2 separate regions of the Homo sapiens genome follow, and region 2 is linked to region 1. The links are contacts of gene promoters, found by promoter capture Hi-C in human tissues and cell types (Jung and others, 2019). All regions are on one chromosome and are shown on one strand. Each heading gives the region's core, a stretch centred on a gene start or on the middle of the fragment in contact. The rest is flanking DNA. Distances are from core to core; before and after follow the strand shown.

Region 1 (2,700 bases), core at 187-2,686:
AACACAAGCAGCCCTGAGATGTAATATCTTCTCACCCTGACCCTCAAAGTGTGTCTCATGCTTTCTAACAGAGGCCATCCTCTTGGAGGAAGACTTGTACTTTTGGCCTGTAGCCCCACCCTCCCTCCTATGGCGTTCTTACAGTCAGTTCTGCAGTGAGTGGGACACTTTCCAAATATAATAGCAAATGGAAACTTCTAATTACATCTGCACATAAAACTAATGTTCCAAATGGTGGTTGCGGTTCTGGTGAGTGCTTATAATTTTTTGTTACCTCAGCATCCATTTTTGAATATGTTTAACTTTTAATAACAGAAGCAAGTCTCAGTCACCATTGACAGTTTCCAGTACTATACCCCACGCAAATGGCTCTAGCTGGTGGCCAGAGATAAACATGCAGTGATGTGATAACAGGGCACTACTGCAGCTTCAAACTCTGGTTCAAGTTCCTCCCACCTCTGCCTTTTCACCTGCTTGCTTTTAAATCCACCAGTTAGAGCTCTCCAGAGGAAACCTAACTGGATAAAGTTGCTGGCCCAAAGGTCCGTTCCTCCCTTCCCTCTCCCTGTTCTCCCTGATCTCCGTGTGTGTGTGTGTGTGTGTGTGTGTGTGTGTGTGTGTGTCCTCTAGGCAAGCTGTGTACCACCCAGGGTCCGTAAGTACTAAAAACTCTTAAACTTTCACACCGCTGTGTTATTGAAACCATGCCTACAATCCAGTCCCTGAGGCGAGGCCACCCTGAAGGGACAGACTCATGCAGGCGGATCCCCTGGTCTTGCTCTTCTGTCCCTGCCTCTGGTGGCTGCTGGGGAACAGTAGCTACCAGCTAAGTTGATAGAGACACTCGAAGAGGTTCATTCAAAACACTGGTCCCCGAGCAGCCCAGTAAGCTTTTAAACGCATAACATTTTGTTTGGGTCTCAAACAAGTCACAAGGCACGGATACGGATGCGGCTGTGGCTGATGGCTATTTGGATGCTGCCCAAGCCTCGCAGTAGGAAGCAGCTTCAGACTGCAGCAGGGCCGCATAGCCCGATAGCCAGGCCCTGGGGCACCCAGGGCACCAGCAAGACGCACAGAAACGTTTTGAAAAACATTTTAATATACTTAAAAAAAAAGTAAAAGGGAAAATCAGAAGTCTTTGGAAGTTTCCTACTGTTTTTATGTCCCATAGCAAATCCGAGGAGGACGCCCCAAACTTTCAGTTCCCTGGGGTTTTGAAGGTGCTCATTGGGTCCTGGCCACCCGGCCTTCTCAGAACCTGGGCCAGGAGGCTGAGCTCCGCGCGGGGGTGGAGGGAGAGGAGGAGGTTCCTGCCGAGGTGCGGCTGCGCGGTGCGGGAGCCGGGAGCCTGGGAGGGCAAGGGCATCCTGAGGGGCGGGGCCGGGGGGCGGAGCCTTGCGGGCTGGAGCGAAAGAATGCGGGGGCTGAGCGCAGAAGCGGCTCGAGGCTGGAAGAGGATCTTGGGCGCCGCCAGGTAAGAAGGCCCGAAGGCCTGCTGGGGTTTGGGTGAGCCGAGCCGAGGTGGCGGCGGCAGTCTGGGCCCGGGCGGAGGGTCTGTGGGGGCTACCCCCGTCCTCGCTTTCCACTCGACCCCTGCCGGGCGAGCCTCCCGAGGCCTGGCCCTTCCAACCCGTCACCGCGGCCCGGTGTCCTAGCCGAACGCTGGCTTCATTTTATCTACGAGGAAGGAGAAACGGGGAGCGCGCCCTCTCCCAGAAGCAGCCCCGTTACCCCCGTCGCGCCCCCCATTCCCTCGGGGGCAGCCTCGCACCCGGGCCCCTGCCATCGCTTTCGTCTCAAGGGAAGCTCTAGCGGTCCAGAGAAACTGCGCCGGGGGAAAGGCCAGCCCTCCGTGGTCACGGCAGTTCCTCTCTCCCCTCGCGGTCTAAATGTGTAATTTTGAAAAGCAGGTGTCGGGCGAAACGGACTTTTTTTTTTTTTTGAGATGGAGTTTCGCTGTTGCCCAGGCTGGAGTGCAGTGGCGCGATCTGGGTTCACCGCAACCTCCGTGTACCGGGTTCAAGCGATTCTCCTGCCACAGCCTCCTGAGTAGCTGGGATTACAGGCATGCGCCACCATGCCTGGCTAAATTTTGTATTTTTAGTAGAAACGGGGTTTTCCCATGTTGGTCAGGCTGATCTTGAATTCCTGACCTCGTGATCCGCCCGCCTCCGCCTCCCAAAGTGTTGGGATTACAGGTGTGAGCCACCGCGCCCGGCCGAAACGGACGTTTTAAGTACAACGTGATGTTTTGTTTTCTTGGGTCGGCTCGGGCCGCACCCTTCTTAGAGTCTGACTGCTGACTTTTCAAAAAACAACATTAACCCGGGAGGCTGAGGTAGCGGTGAGCCGAGATCGCGCCATTGCCCTACTGCCTGGGCAATAAGAGCGAGACTCCGCCTCAAAAACGAACAAAACCCACAAAGAACAAACAAAAAAAACCAACATTAAGCAGTGTGCCTTTTATGGCCGTTTAGTGATACCCAGGCTCTTCACTGGTCATTTCTGGAAGTATTTAACAGCACTTGATGGGTAAAACAATAGGCTTCACTTCACAGGGTGGTTGAGATGATTGACGGAAAGCGCTCAGCACAAACGCGGCGGCTGCTAATTATTTCAGGTACCCTGCGATCCCTGAGCAGTTGTTCAAGTTCTCCACTCCTGGCGGTTTACTCCCAGTTCCCTGAAGAAGGCACA
Region 2 (2,700 bases), core at 114-2,613, 550 kb after region 1:
ATCATATGATCCAGCAGTCTCACTTCTGAATATACATCCAAAATAACTGAAAGCAGGGTCCTTTATTTATTTATGTATTTATTTTAGAGACAAGCTCTCACTCCATTGCCCAGGCTGGAGTGCAGTGGTGCAATCACGGCTCACTACAGCCTTGACCTCCCCAGGATCAGCTCCTGAGTTTGTAGAGACGGGTTTTGCCATGTTGCCCAGGTTGGTCTCAAACTCCTGGGCTCAAGTTATCCACCCGTCTCAGCCTCCTAAAGTGCTGGGATTACAGGAGTGAGCCACTGTGCCTCGTCTCTGAAAGCAGTCTTGAAGAGATATTTGCACACCCATATTCATCCTGGTATTGTTCACAGTAGCCGAGAGGTAGAAGTAACACGAGTATCCATTGACAGATGAACGGAAAAAGAAAATGTGATACACACATAGAATGGAATATCTGTGAAGGATCACACATTGTGCTATGTAAAAAAAAAAAGATGAGGAACTAGTTCTAGGATCAACTAAAAATCCTGTCACGTGCTGCAACATGGATGAACCTCAAGGATATAATGCTAAGTGAAATATGCCTAATAGTAATTCCCTAAGTCTGCTACTGATCTGCTTGTGCATGTGTCAAACATTATATTCTTAAATTCAACAGGACACTTATTAAATTAATCCAAGTGCCTCTTGTTTTGTCCCATCTCCCATAGTCATGTTACTTAAGACACTCCCTTTATGATTCCACTCATATGAAGTATCTCAAGCAGTCAAAACCATAGAAATAAAAAGTAGAAGTCTCCTTTAATCTAGAAAAGTTGCCCTTTAATCTAGAAAAGTTGCCCCCTTTTTTTTGTTTGTTTTTGTTTTCCATAATTGACATTTTTTTAAAGAGTCAGGACAATTGTTTTGCCAAGCTGATCAATCCTGGGATCTCTAATGGTTTCCTCATTGTTATATCTAGATAAGATATTTTTGCAGTATACTACATTGTTGATTTGTGCCCTTTTCATATCAGGGAGTGTTCTGTAAGGGGTTAACTCAGGAGGCTTGGACTGTTCAAACATCCCCAAGAAAGGACTGGACCTTGACCTGCTGCTGGAAGGTAACCTCTGAGCAATTATCCTGCCTGATAAGAGTGTTTCTATATGCCTTAGGCCCTGGGCCAAATTATTTGTTTGATCAGTTAGTTTGTGCTAACGATCTGACTTACCGTGAACACCTGTTTTTCTATGCCTGGGGTCCTGGACCATGCTATATCAGTTTGACCTCTCGAGGTCTGGAGACTGGACAGCTAAAGTCAGCCACATGGACAACACATGCTTATGTGAAAATCCTGAGGACCAAGGGGCTTGGGTCTGCTTCTTTGGACAGCAGTCTTCACACCTGTTGTCACACATAGTTGCTGAGAGAATTAAGTACAGTCTGTGTGGCCCCACTGGGAGAGGACAACTGGAAGCTTGCCCCTGATTTCTCCTATACTTAACCTCATGCACCTTTTCACTTTGCTGATTTAAATCTGTGCCCTTTCTTTGTAAGATACTGTAGCTGTGAGCAGAACAGGTTTTTTTTGAGTTTTTTGAGTACTTCTAGTGAATCATCAAACCTGAGGTTGATCTTAGGGATCCCCAACACAAGGGGCACAGCATGTCAGTTTGCTTCATTAACTTTGTTCAGGCCGGTGCAGTGGCTCATTCCTGTAATCCCAGCACTTTGGGAGGCTGAGGTGGGCGGATCACTTGAGGCCAGGAGTTCTAGACCAGCCTGGCCAACATGGCAAAACCCTGTCTCTACCAAAAATACAAAGATTAGCCAGGCCTGGTGGTGCACGCCTGTGATCCCAGCTACTTGGGCGACTGAGGCAGGAGAATGGCTTGAATCGAGGAGGCGGAGGTTGCAGTGAGCGGAGATCATGCCACTGCACTCCAGCCTGAGCAACAGAGCGAGACTCTGTCTTAAAAACTACAACAAGAAGAGCCAAAAAACAAACTTTGTACATTCAGCTAAGGTCCTCCTGGATTTCTCTGACATAAAGATGTTTTTCCTTTGTAATTAAGAAATATTCTGTGGAGTGATACTTGGAAACTATGAGTATCCTGTTCCCCAACAGTATTTCACATAATAGTTTTAGTATTTATTGATGATTATTGTATGGATCAATGATTACTTTGGAGGCTATAAAAAGGTGGTCTTCTATGATTTCAGTTGAAAGCCGGTTTTTTTTTTTTTTTTTTTTTTTTTTTTTTGAGACGGAGTCTTGCTCTGTCCGCCAGGCTGGAGTGCAGTGGCGTGATCTCAGCTCACTGCAAGCTCCGCCTCTCGGGTTCACGCCATTCTCCTCCCTCAGCCTCCTGAATAGCTGAGACTACAGGAGTGTGCCACCACGCCCAGCTAATTTTTGTAGTTTTTTTTTGTTGTCGTCGTTGTTGTTGCTGTTTTGAGACGGAGTCTCGCTCTGTCCCCCAGGCTGGAGTGCAGTGGCGCGATCTCAGCTCACTGCAAGCTCCGCCTCCCAGGTTCACGCCATTCTCCTGCCTCAGCCTCCCGCGTAGCTGGGACTACAGGCGCCCACCACCACACCCGGCTAATTACAGGTGTGAGCCACTGCGCCCAGCCTAAAAGTCCTTTATGTAAGTGTTGGAGACATGTGTCCTGAATGTGGCAGTTGCGACTCAGCGTTGGGCAGAGACCTCCATGTGAGTCCACATGGGTGTG

Evidence for each region. The method cuts DNA at HindIII sites, captures the fragments that hold promoters and counts their contacts. A contact is called where the count stands out against the background at its distance.
Region 2: a contact is called between a fragment that was not itself captured here and the fragment with the promoter of CD59 in region 1, in 1 of the 25 tissues and cell types used here (lymphoblastoid cells).

What each region holds. Positions count from the first base shown.
Region 1 is chr11:33,735,159-33,737,858 of GRCh38, reverse strand. CD59 (CD59 molecule (CD59 blood group)) reads left to right here and starts at 1,436. Exons shown (of 4, transcript NM_000611.6): 1 at 1,436-1,477. RefSeq lists a silencer at 1,318-1,787. The HindIII fragment of the contact is 16,078 bases long and covers 1-2,700 here.
Region 2 is chr11:33,181,112-33,183,811 of GRCh38, reverse strand. All of the region lies in intron 1 of CSTF3-DT (CSTF3 divergent transcript), which reads right to left. Among named protein-coding and RNA genes, the nearest start is that of CSTF3-DT, 21 kb to the right of the region's middle. The HindIII fragment of the contact is 5,099 bases long and covers 1-2,700 here.